Linked DNA regions of Homo sapiens: all the other regions are linked to region 2. The links are contacts of gene promoters, found by promoter capture Hi-C in human tissues and cell types (Jung and others, 2019). All regions are on one chromosome and are shown on one strand. Each heading gives the region's core, a stretch centred on a gene start or on the middle of the fragment in contact. The rest is flanking DNA. Distances are from core to core; before and after follow the strand shown.

Region 1 (4,153 bases), core at 654-3,153, 1.8 Mb after region 2:
TGTTCATATTAGCGACAATGAAACAGATTGCAAACACCAAGTAAAGTGATTAACACAATATTTGCCATGCCCAGAGAAGCCAGAAATACTATTAGAGTTCCCTCTTTGATTTTAAGCTTGGGTGTTAAGAATACAGGCTAAAATATTAAGCAAACATTTGCCCCATTCCAGGGCATACGGCTTAGGGAAAGGAGTAGCAAAACTAGAGAAGTGTTAAGTGCTTCAGTCTTACAGGAAGACAATTTTTAAAAAAAAATTTTAGAAACAACCTGTCGCCCAGGCTGCAGTGCAGTGGTGCCATCATAGCTCACTGCAGCCTTGGCCTCCTGGGCTCAAGTGATCCTCCCTCCACAGTCTCCAGAGTAGTTGGGACTACAAACACATACCACCAAACAGCAAATTTTTAAAAACCTGTATTTTGTAGAGACGGGGTCTCACTATGTTGCATAGGCTGGTCTTAAGCTCATGCCCTCAAGCAATTCTCCTGCCTCGATCTCCAGATTGAGCACTGGAGTTACAGTTGTGGCCAACACACCAGCCAGAAGACAAATTTTAGAGTAAGCAACGGAAGCTGCAGAGAACATTAAAGGGAACACGGAACTAAGAGTACAAGGACCTAGGTTTGAGTATCTACCTGTCTATCCAAAATGGCTATACCACTTAAAATAAGCCATTTGGATTTTCTGGGTCTTAATTTTGTCATCAGTAAAGTGAAGATAATTAAAAACTTTCCTCTCTACAAAACAAAGTTAGAAAAAAATGCTGTAAAACCATGCGCAAGGTTCTTAGAAGTCTGCATATTAGCTTTGTTTGACATTTAAGGGTTGGAAGAAAATTATCTAATGTAAATTTAATTTTTTATAAATGCAATTGTTCTTAAAGAGACTGTTCACTCAGATTCTTGCCCTGTACACAGTCGAGGCAGTTGTGCAGGCAGAATACATAGTGAAAATAACCGAAGTCAGGACACCTGAATTACTTTCCCAGCTCTGCCACTGACTAGCTATGAAGTCTGAGCGCATCACAGCCACTTTAGATATGAATTGAGTCATCTAGAAAGTGAAAGAACTGGACTAGGTGTTTCTAATGCCCTTTCCAGTTCTAAGATTTTATAAAGGACTTTTTTTTTTTCCATCTGTTGTTCTTAGTTACAGATACCTCTGATCCCTTCCCATGTTCAGGGATCTTGTTTATTTCAACTCCACTGGAAGCAGCAGGGCAGAGAGGACCACTGAAAGCGAAAGAATGAATTTATTTTCTTCTTCATTTCCGAGGTCCTATTATAATTCATGGGACGTGAAAAGGGGGATGATTAAATTCAGGATTTCTGATTTCTTGATAGAAGATTATTTGGAAGGAAATTTGACTTTGCCACGCGTCGCAAACTCCTGAAAGTGATCATATTTGAGCTGACTGGTTGTATAAACCTGTGTTCAATAAAAGCATATCGATTGGGCAAAGCAGTCTTCCAAAGCTGAGAGAAAGGATGCAGAGAGCATGAGGCGGGGTAAGAGTACTCCTCAGACTTCAATAATGTATTGTTAACTGGTGTAATCTTCTGAGAAAGTGCAAGACCTCAAATTAACAGCACTGAATTGAGTCTAATAACTACATTTCACAACATCATATCTACTCCTCAATCAATACTTAATTTTCTCATACAGCCCTCGGCCTCCTGCAAGCTTTTATTGTGTTTTGCAGAGAATAGCATTGACCTCGAGGAATGCTGGTCACTTACAACCCTAATACCCCCAAAAAGCCAAAGGCATCTTGAAATATTCCCGAGACAAATACAGGCTAAAATGCACACCCAGGATAAAAATTGTTCTACCACATTCATTTCCATATTGTGTCAGATCTGTCTGATCTTCATCTTACTGGAAGCCTAAAGTGACTCAGGTTTGGAAATCAGCCTGCACTTTTAGAAGTAACTTTAAGAGACTTGGCTTGAAGTCACATGAGTCAAATCAGCAAATTCATACTCTGAGTCGCTTTTTGCTGCCTAAATTTCATATTCTACAATCCTGGAGCTTTGATCACAGAAGTTCAGCAAGTCTAGAGGGAAAATGACTTTTTCCATTTCAGTTAACAAAGATTACTCTGGAGTGTGGCAGGAGGATTAACTCTGAATCTTTGGGGACTTTCTTAATATTTTGCTCCAGCATCTCATTGTTGTACATTACATAGCACAGGTATTATTCGGGATAGGAAGAGGATTTTCCAAAATAAATAATCTTTTTTCTACTTACTCATTCAATTCATAAATCAGGTGCTGAGTTGACATTCCTTCCAAAGATAAATAATGTGAAGGGGGCAGCTGTCTCTTCACATTTCCCAAAATGTTCTTTGGCAATAATCAAGTGTTGCTCTTCCCAGGGTCTGGTTAAATACCACTTTAACATTTCTATTTATATGAGGTTTCTGTTGTCAATATCACAAATTACCACGAACTTGTCCACATCCAGCAGGAAAATGGGTGCATCCTTGTCCCAGCCTTTCCAGAATAATTATTGAGATTCATTATGATTAAATTGGCTCAGGTTGCACGATCCCCCCTGAACCAGTCCCTGAGAGCAGGGTAGATGGCTTAACCAGGACATCATGTTCCAATCCTGGATCCAGACAGAAAGCACAGCTCTTTCACCAGGATAAGTGTAAATGGATCTTGGGTAGCAAAAACATTGTGCAATTGCTGGACATTACTGTATTTAAAACTTTTCACCAGCTTCATTATAAACTTATGAGTGCATTGTATTCTTAACTATTACTTCATTGTTGGACATTTTAGATTGTTTCTAGTGGCTTATTAATAAAAAGTAGTTGCCCAAACAATAACTTTGCCCTGGAATATTCTTTTTATTTAAGATCGTTTTCCTAAAATATATCTGCAGCAACAGAACTATTGAGTTAAAAGAATAAACCCTTTCAAGTCTCTTAACACACATTGCCAAATTTCTTTCCAGCAAGCATTTTTCACTTTATTTTTCTGCTACCATTCTGTGAGAATTTCCACATCGGTGCACTCTTTCCCAACATGAAGCATATTCGTCTTCCTTCATCTGTGCCAATTTGAGAGGTTCAAAGAAGACCCAGAGGGAGCTTGATAAAATCAACGGATCTGATCATGTGACTTTGCTGTATACAGGATTTCAATGACATCCTGCTGCCTTGAGGACCAAAGTCCAAACTCCCTGGGATGATGCACAAGGCTTTCTAGGATGTCAGCCCCAGTGGTCTCCCCACCTTTGTCTCTGCTGCTTTCCAATCCAGCCCTGGAAAACTGAACAACTTAGAATTCCTCAGACTCTGCATCTGCATTCATATTTCTACGTGTTTGCATACACTCTTTCTTTCTCTCCTTATCATTCTATTTCCAATCCAAGAATTCCCTCAACCTGTACATAACATCTAATTCAGGTCTCCATCACACAGTATTGCATTAACCCTTTGCATGATGACCCTTTCCCATACAAAAATATTTTCTGTGGCGGGGGCCAAAAATATATATTTTTGTGCAAATACTAGGCCCTGGCACAGTGTCTGACACCAAAAAAAAAGACATACAGTAAATAATCGTCAAATGAATCACAAGTGGTGATGGAAAGAGAATGGATATTGACAAAAAAGAGTGAAAAGAAAATTGATAACGTACAAAGAAAATCTGCATTTGTCCTCTGTGATCTTGAAACAATATTGAAGCATTCTGAGCTTCCTTCTTCACAACATTATTTTAAGATCATATTGAGTATATCAAAGTGCTATGTGACTCTCAGATGGTATAATAAATAATACATTTTAAAACATTCTTTAGGGTTTTGAGAAGCCCTGGCTCTGCAATGCTTCAGGAATGTCCCAGTGTTTTATCACCTTCACAAACCTCACACAATCATATGGGGGAGGAAAAAGTGGCAGATGGGAAAATAAAGAGTATTTAGGAGAAATTACAAGCAGACAGCACTCTGGGGGTTCTAGGGTGAGCTCCAGCTTTTCTATATAGAAAGCAAATCTAGAGTTGTAGTAAACAGTGCTGCTGAAAGCCATTAACTCGACGTGTTGTTGGGGTTGAAATGACTAAAAGAGACATTTTACGCTTTCTGGATGAGGGTTGCATAGAAAATGGAACTCTGGAAAAGGGAGTGTAATCAACAATACA
Region 2 (4,545 bases), core at 1,429-3,928:
CATCCTCCACTTGATCATGCCCACAGACCTGTCACAAAAGAATTGGGCCCAAGGAAGTCACCAAAGACTGAGACAACCCACTGTGTTCTTCCACGTTTTCACTTGTGCCTCTAGTCCTTTATTCAGACCCCACCCGGCTTTCCAAACTGCCAGTTCAGCCTCATCTTCCTCCTATTTCATTCTTTCCTTCCTTTTTCTTTCTATCCATCCTCTAATCTTAATGATGTACACATATATCTACAAAATAAATCTGTTAAAGGTACAGGAAAAAAAAATCCTCACGTTTGCAAGCCACCGTACCCAATTTCTTTTAACTGGCTATGTTTAGGCCAATATCTGAGTCAAGGTTGTTAAAAGAGAAGACTTATGCTTTCATTTTATTTCAATATTTTATCATCTGAATATTTATTACATGCAAATATCTAACATATATTTACCCTCCAAATAGTTGGTGATGAAAGATCCAGCATAAACTTCTATTCACTTATGGTGGGAGCTAAATATTGAGTACACATGGACACAAAGACGGGAACAACAGATACTGGGGATCCCAAAGGGAAGGGGTGGAAATAAGACTGAAACACTACCTACTGGGTACCACGCTCACTACCTGGGTGACAGGATCAATCACACCCCAAACCTTAACATCAGGCAATACCCCCATGTAACAAACCTGTACTTCTACCTTCTGAATCTAAAATAAAAGTTGAAATTATATATACAAAAAAGAATAAATATCATTGCCAAAATAGTTTAATATTTTTCTTGAGCATTTAAAAAAGTCACATGTAATTAGCCAGTCCTCTTATAATCAATTTTCACAACAAGGCTGTGGGGTGAAAATTATTGTTACTTTAGAGAGAGTAACAGAATAATGTGAGAAACAGATCTGGAAATTCTACCAACAAATTCTACCAAGCAGCACTTCTCCAAACTTTTCTGACCCTCTTATTATCCTGACAAAAGAACCGGTGAACCACTTATCCCAGCTGTTTTCCTCCCACTCATCCTATAAAAAGTAAACACACTCCACAGCTGAATGAAAAGCATTATTACTTTGTAATAAAGCCCCAAATGAGTTGATAGCTGTCATTGTTCTAAGTCTTTAAGTTATTAATACAACGACAACTATATAACTCCAGTTACCGGGAGGGAATTCAGTACCTGATCCTCTTCTGATTCACAAAAGATGTGCTGTACTCCAGAGTGGTGCTGAAGAACACACACCAGGAATCAAGATTCCCAGGGGTTTCTAAGCAGATTCGGCCAGACTCCCCCTCGTTACTTCCAAAATGCTACCTCAATAATCAGAAAGCACGATAAAGGATCCAGAAGGGAAGGGACATTGTGGGGAGGAGGATGAGTGTTTAGTGTAGAAAGGAGGATAAGATAGCCAGGGGCTGATCAACGAGAGATCAGCATACAGTAGGATTAGTCAGGGATGCTGGGAGATGGATCTTGAATAACGGTGAAATTTTATTACTGGATTTCAGTAAAGGGTTAAAAGTACAAAAGTTAAACTTTAAAGACTTTAAACAGAATGCTTTTAACGAGAGACAACATACTTTCAAAAAAACTACCTTCTGGTATGATACCTTGAATCTACAGATTTTAAAGTTGCCTAAGGCAAAAAACTAAGTAATTTTTAAAAACCGTCGTATGTTTTCAGGTTTAAAAAAAAAAAAGTCGCATATTTTCATAAGGTCTGAGAAGCTCGCCAAAACCAAACCTAACTGAATTCTCCTTATGTAAACGAAGACTAAGCCACAAGATTCAATGACCCTAAGCAAACACGCTGCAGAAGACCGTTTAAAAATAGAATACACAAAACTACCACAGGAAACAATTCCGGAAGAGGACTGGGTTATCTTCTGGAAACCCAGCTTTCGTGCTTAAAGACAAACTATTCTTCCCCAAACCAAATCTCCCGATCCCTAAACATTAAGTTCTCACATGTCAGTTGCCTATCTGGTGTCTCCACCCCACCCCAATGATAAAAGCTGTAAAATTCTCTTTAAAAACGTCAGGCTGGGACCGGTGTCCGAGGCACGAGGGGTAGGCAGAGGAAGGCGGCGTGGAGGGAAGGAGCCTGGGGGGTCCGGCCTGGCAGCGCCGAAGCGAGAAGGAAGGGGAGTCCCTGGGGCCAAAGGGGGACCCAGGCTTCCCCAGGCAGCCGCGCCGGGCACGCTGCTTTTGTTGAGCTGGGGGGACCACGGCCCAACCTGGGGTCCGGGCCCTCGCCCGCCCAGCGACCCTGGCACTGTGCGCCGTTGAGTCCCCTTGGCGGGCGCCCGTCCCTCCCGCGCCTGGCTCTGACCTCTGCCCACCCCGGTGCTGCCCACCCCGGCCCGGACTCGGCCGCAGAGCGGGGCTTTGGCCTGCCGGGCTCCGAGACTGTGTCCCCACCCGCGTCCCCGGCCGCCCGCGCCCCCGCGCCCGGGCCCTCGGGGGCCGCCTCACCTGCATGCCCGGAGCCCCCGGGTCGACCCCCGTGTCCAGGACTGCGATGAGCACCCCCCGCCCATCATACTCCGGGTAGCGGCAGAGGAAGGAGGCGGCTCCGGTCTCCTTCTTCGGCAGGAGACCGTGAAAAGGGAAGGGCTCCTCAGTCGCAGCGGTGGCCATGGACGCAGGATGGAGGACGAGGAAGCGGCAAACTGCCAGGCTGCGCGCGGACTAGCAGCGCGAGGACACCCGTGCGGCCTCGGGCCGGAGGCGGGGGCGAGGGGCGGGGTCGGCCCGTCTTCCACCAATCCCGGCCTGCCAGGGAGCGGTGGCCAATCACGTGCTGCTACGTAAGCCAACGGCGCCGCTCTCAGGAGCTAGGCCCGAGTATTGCCCGGGCTGCAGTGAAGGGGGAGGAGTCTGAGGACATTACTGGAGGGTTCGGATCTCGAACCTGGGGCCTTGAAGAGGCCCGCGCTTGGGGTTTTTAGGCAACAGCAGGCCTCCAAGCAGAGTCCTGGTGTCCCGGACCGAATCACTCCCCGAGAGACGGGCAAGGAGATGGACCGCCAGCCAGGAATAATGGGAACCCTTCGCTTGGCAAACGATAGTTTCCAAACTTAAGGTTGTGGATGAAACTTTTTGGTGCGGCTGCTGCAGGAGCCCCAGCCCCGGGGTGCTGCTGACCCGAGGCAAGGGAGCCGGCGCACTCACGCTTAGCCGCTAAGGAGTCTGCGGTGTCGGCGAAAGCTCCGGACATGATTTTGGAAGGTCGTAGGTTAAGGGGTGTAGACTTTGGGTTCCCCTGTGTTGTTATGCCCCTTTGATGGGGGTGAGGTGGTGAGGGGGAGCAATAGGGTGGAGACAGGCAATAGTTTCAGTCAACAGGAAGTGGGTTGTTGGTCATTCCGTCGCCTTTGTAGCCAGTAACAAAGCACGAGACTGAAATGGGCCCCTCCTATCCTCTGCTGATCCTTAGCTTCCGGGATTTCTGAAAAACATCTTTTTTTTTCCTCTTACACTGAAGTTTCTGATTGCTCCTTACGGCTGTCCACTCAATTATAGAGCCATAATTTTCAGTTTTCCAGATTCACAGTGCCTGCCGTCAGTTGCTGCAAGCTGCATAGTGGTCCTCTAATGATCTTTATGTCTATGCTCATGCCAGGGTAATCTTAGCCTTTTATTGTGCCGAAGACCCCTTTGGCAATCTGGTGAGGCCTATTTCTCAAGCAGTGTTTTAAAATGCATACAATGAAATAGATAGGATTACCCAGGAAATAAATTATGTTTAAATGCAGTTATCAAAAATACTAAAGGCAATTTTGTTATATAGCAGGAGCTTTACGTGTGTGTGTATAGTTACAGGTGTACTTCTTTTGCATTAAATAACAGGAGCTAGGGCCAAGGCTAATAAACTACCATAACTTCAAAATAGTGAAGAATATAATTATTTGGAGATAGCGGTGAAAACTGCACTACGATGAACTGATTTTTATTGGTGACATAACAGCATAACTACCCTGGTTTTTGCCTACATTCATACTTGATGTGAAAAAAATTAAGAGGTTTGTATCTTTTTTCTACGGAAGTTTTTGAACCCCTTGGATTCTGTCTATGGACACCAAGTTAAGAATACCTGGTATAAAGGAAAGCCTTATGCATGCGGTTTCCAACCCACAGAATTTCAGAGATCCTCCATTAAGTCTCAAAAATTATTCTTATGGCTGTGCAATGGTTTCAGCTGATTCCTTGATCATTTATTCAGTCCATAAGTCTTACACAAGCATGTTCTCTTTAGTGCAGAGGAAAAAGAAAAGTTGAATGTTTTTCTTCTTATTCCCAACTGTTTACATTACCTCTAGAAAAGAATTTCAAATTAACACAGACGAAAACAGAATAACAAACTCGCAGAAGACATTCAGTATAGAGCTTATAGTGATAGAACAGAATGGCTCCCAGTTTCAAGTGAACCATAGTCCAATCACTTCATTTTATAGATGAAGAAACAAAGTTAACTGACTGTCATGGATTACAAAACAGGTTGATGAAAACACGGGATTTGTCTTCTCACAATCTCTCCCCAGTATGTTCTACCACACC
Region 3 (4,718 bases), core at 663-3,162, 1.5 Mb before region 2:
TTAAGGCTGCAGTGAGCCAAGATCATGCCAATGTACTCAACCTGGGGGACACAGTGAGATCTCGTCTCAAGAAAAGCAAAGTAATATTTAGTAATATACAAAAATATGTGAATTAACTTATATTAAAAAATGTAATTTGCACTATGAACTCAAAATATATGAAGTTTAATACAATAAAGAACCCTAAAGATAATCAATAAAATGTTATTTTTTGAATAAAGTGCTTATGGCTGGCTAATTTTTGTTTTATACTTATTTTTTTTCTACTTTGTAAATTTTCACTAGTGAAAGGCGTTACTTTTACAGCTAGAATATTTTTAAAAGTTTGTTGTTCAGCAACTGACACTCTTAAGATTGAATAACAAAGGGCTGGGCACGGTAGTTCATGCCTGTAATCCCAGCACTTTGGGAGGCTGAGGTGGGTGGATCACCTGAGGTCAGGAGTTAGAGACCAGCCTGGCCAACATGACAAAACCTTGTCTCTACTAAAAATACAAAAAATTAGGCGTGGTGGCAGGTGCCTGTAATTCCACCTACTCAGAAGGCTGAGGGAGGAGAATTGCTTGAGCCCGGGAGGCAGAGGTTGCAGAGAGCAGAGATCACGCCATTGCACTCCAGCCTGGGCAACAAGAGTGACACATTGTCTCAAAAAAAATAAATAAATAAAAATGAAAAAAAAATTGAATAACAAAAATTCTTCCTCACTTCATGAGCAACTATTAAAATTAAATTAAATTTTAATTTAATTAAATCATAATTAACAATTAAAATGTAGTATTCTCAGAAAAGCAGATTACATCAATTTCTTTACACAAGACCCGAAAGATATGTTCTGGGAAGTTGACAGATACCCTGTACTTTTTGTTTAATTTTCCATTTTTACTTAGTTAAAAATCAAACCAGTACTGACATTTAAAAAATACTACACTCAATCACATAACTGGGGTGCTCTCTCCTTGGGACAGCAGGGATAGGGGACAGTGAGAGGAGTGAATGTCTCCCTCTCCATGAGCAAGCTTTCCACTCACAGTAGTCCCCCTTCTTGTTGCGATGGACGCATTTTCTGCTCCTCCGACCTGTGAACGCACAGCCTGGTAGCCCTCTGGAGCCCTGTTGCCCATCCCCATCTCCTTCTTTACACTCTGGGCATCCTCTTCCAGATCGGTGTCATCCTTCAACAGGTTTTCCTTCTCATTTTCCTTCAAGCTATTTGTTCCATTTTTTTTTTCCGTGGAAGGGTCCTTCCATCTTTCCCTTGGCTGTTATGTTTCTTCATTTAATGTTTTTAATGGGATCCCACGAAGGAAAGGATATAGCACACGAGAGCTGAGTTAACAACTGATATGGTTTGGCTCCGTGTCCCACCCAAATCTCATGTTGAGTTGTAATCCCTAACGTTGGGGGAAGGACCTGGTGGGAGGTGACTGGATCATGGGGGTTTCTAATGTTGCCCTTGTAACATATATTTCCCAACAAGGGGATCAAGCTTGTAGCTCTGTTGAAGAAACTGACTCTATTATATACCACCAAAATATTTTTAAAATACAAAGAGAATCTATCATAATTTTTGAAGAATAAGTACCTCATTCTGATATGAGTGCTTTTCTTTTGAACATTAATCACTAAGTGAAAAGATAAAGTATAAATATTAATTATCACTCACTAGGATTTTAGGTCCGTCAGAGCAGGGTTTCATCTGACATGCCCATCACTGTTTCTAACTGCCTCAAACAGCGAATGGCACAAGGCAGATACTTGATACATAATAATCAAATATGCCTGATAAAAATTTCTAACTGGAGGTTAAGGAAGCCTCTGAAGTCACAGAAGAAATCAGGTTAGAAAGTTAATGATCTTCCCCACAGTTCTTGCTATGCTGAGACTAAGCCACATAATTTTCATTTCTTCCTAAACATCCTCAGAGAATAAGAGTGAGGTGAGGCTGGCGAAGACAGATGACCCCAAAGCGCTTCTGAGCCACCCTTGCTTTGGAGAGCAGAGCTTCAACTCAGAGCTCAGAGCTGCAGGCTCAGAGGTCTAAGAATCTCCCCTCCCAGCCACTCCCCAGAATGAACCCCCTGCCCATCGTGGCTTCAGCTCCTGCCCAGCACTCAAAGTAGCTCTGCCGGTAACACCGGCAGACAATGGAATTGCAGGAAGGGATAATATTTGTTCCAGGGATGGTGGCCTAAACAACCTGAAAAGCAAAAAGAAAAAGTAAGTTTCTCAAGAGCCAGGGCATAGATGAAGCTGTCTCTTCACACTAAATGCACCACCATGTTTTTCTTATAACTTGAGTGTGTCTTTCTTCCTTATAGACCCAACTTGTCTAAAGCATCTGGCTTCCTGGGAATGGCTAATATTTTATATCCACTTGTATTTCTGTGTAAATGGAAATCAGAAAATGTCTAGAAATTCAGGTATAAAGCAGGGAGACAATACAACGGGGAAATGACCAGAGCCTTTGCGTGCTTTGTTGGTGCTTTGTCTTCCTTTCCACTTAAGTCTATAGTGTGTGGGGATAAAACATATGCAAGCCAGCAGAGGACTGACACGTTCCTATTGACATAGTAGGAAAGCTCCCTTTCTCCAACCTGCTGACCCTCAGAATACTACCAAGGATGTCTGTCCCAGGCTTTCTGGGAGTAAATTGAGGCTAAATGTGAGTCTCTGTGGAGAGGAGATGGTCATAATTTTTCTCACGTTGCATATGATTGCATATCATTTGTTCTACTTCAAATTACATATAATGGAAAACCTTTTATCTGTACAGTCCTCTGTAGGTTGCTCAGAGGAAAAATGCAGACAAGACAGATGATAAATGCATAGATAATCAAATAGGGAGAATCTGCTTCTCGTTCTTTCACTCATAGAAAGGCGTGACAGTTAGAGCTGTGTGGAACTACCAATTTTCACATTCTTTGCATTCACTTGAAAACTTAGCTTTTATAGTAATTTGAAAACTTAATCCAAGGCATGGTATTTCCACCAGCAAACAAATTAAACAAGGAATATAGCTCTGAGTTTTCATGAGCTCTCACTAACATTGCTTGCAGTACATACAAAATAAGCTTCTGAATATTAGTCTCAATCAATTATTTAAAACAGAATTATATTTCAAATGCAATCGAATCAAGCTACTAAAGAACTTTTACTGTCAGTTTTAAAATGAATAATCTATCTCTGGTTTATCAATATTTTAATCAGATTTGCATATACATCTTGTTAAATGTATTACTTTCTGAGTTTTCTATGTCTTTCTATATTTTTATCTCTATAAAATTCTCTCTTATTTTACTTCCTCTATGACGGTAAATAGGGAATGGGTCTTCTTCCTTGACATACACATTCTCTAATCGAATGAAATGTAGATTTATGCACCCATTTTCTCTAATATTTAATAATAAATCTCTACATGGGGTTATAGGGAGAAAGCCAAGGCATGATGTCCCACACAGGTCCCTGAACACTCCTCTTCATGCTGACTCGGTCTCTCACAGACCCTTCACTGTGTGGAATAACATGTCCCTTTCGGTGAATCAAAGAGTAGTATAGTGTTGGTGCAGAAAGAGAACATGGAGAAGTGAACTAGACGATGAGTTGCTTAAGGTAGCAATCTGGAAGTAATCTTTGGGTATTTCATTGCCCTATCTGCCAATATAATGTATCCTAATAGTTAAAAAATATAACCCCAACATTTCTCTTGAACTACCAACTTTTGGTCTCCTCTGCTTACCCTGTTTGCAAAGATAATATTTCATTAACTCTATTGAAGTTTTAATGGATTTTCTGGTTTCTCCTTTGTCCCCTTAGAATTCAAAATTTATTTACAATAATAGTCATTATTTTAAAATCTAAGTCAAACCATGGAGTCAACCCCCACATATCCCTGTTGTAAAAATAAAATAGAATATTATGAGACAATGATTTGTAAAAATCATATCATACAAACATATTTGTACCTTATTCTCAGAAGAAACCAATTTTACTTCACTGAAGCTTCAGGCAAAACACTTCATACGACCTTTTGAACTCTTCAATGCTATCCAAAAAATTTTCATCGTCTATATTAAAAACAAGAAAGTATTTAGCTTTCTATTCCTATAAAACTGTTAAAGAGCAGGGGTTCAATTCTATGGACAACATAATGTGGATTTTGCAGATGCTATGCGTGTTTAAATATTTGCAATAGTATTACTGCCACAATAAAAGAAAAGCAAACCAACGTTATCAACATAATCAAATCTGATTTTTAAGAAAGAAAGATAAACTCTTTCATAAGAACACACTGTAATCACTGGACTTCTGAAGTATGGAAATCTTCTCGTGAGCTGAGGACTTCTGAATGGTGTGTTTCATCAAATACTTTAGGCAATACAGCTTTTATACTGGAAGTTTATGTTGGTAATTCAATCTTCTCACTTTGTGTTTGTGAAAAGTCTTGATCATATACTATTTTAATAAAACATTAAATGAATACATCTAAAATTGCATACCTCTTACAGCATCAAGTGCCATGTAATGCAGAGGTAATTCCTCAAATTCTGTTGTTGATTGGATGATGGCATTCCTTTTTGTGAATACAGCAAGCTTTCTAAAATTATTATTTTCATGTCTTCTTTTTTATCTTAATTTTATTTATTTTATATTATCATTCTGATTCTTCTATCACCCACATTTGTAGGAATACAAAATATTCTGTTACATGTTGTAATTAA

What was found. Contacts are between HindIII fragments. The study calls those that stand out against the background at their distance.
Region 1: a fragment that was not itself captured here is called in contact with the fragment with the promoter of TPP2 in region 2 in 1 of the 25 tissues and cell types used here (mesenchymal stem cells).
Region 3: a contact is called between a fragment that was not itself captured here and the fragment with the promoter of TPP2 in region 2, in 1 of the 25 tissues and cell types used here (mesenchymal stem cells).

Annotation. Positions count from the first base shown.
Region 1 is chr13:100,823,513-100,827,665 of GRCh38, reverse strand. The region is part of intron 2 of NALCN-AS1 (NALCN antisense RNA 1); the gene reads right to left. Among named protein-coding and RNA genes, the nearest start is that of NALCN-AS1, 120 kb to the right of the region's middle. The HindIII fragment of the contact is 3,897 bases long and covers 1-3,851 here.
Region 2 is chr13:102,595,119-102,599,663 of GRCh38, reverse strand. TPP2 (tripeptidyl peptidase 2) reads right to left here and starts at 2,678. Exons shown (of 30, transcript NM_001330588.2): 1 at 2,461-2,678. The coding sequence starts at 2,625. It overlaps LOC107984588 (a long non-coding RNA gene), which reads left to right and starts at 2,722. Exons shown (of 2, transcript XR_001749984.3): 1 at 2,722-3,216. RefSeq lists silencers at 2,165-2,454, 2,615-2,904 and enhancers at 2,975-3,034, 3,085-3,244. The HindIII fragment of the contact is 8,618 bases long and covers 1-4,545 here.
Region 3 is chr13:104,130,398-104,135,115 of GRCh38, reverse strand. LOC105370340 (a long non-coding RNA gene) reads right to left here. Exons shown (of 3, transcript XR_931689.2): 2 at 3,963-4,064; 3 at 828-2,197. Among named protein-coding and RNA genes, the nearest start is that of LINC01309, 710 kb to the right of the region's middle. The HindIII fragment of the contact is 3,247 bases long and covers 289-3,535 here.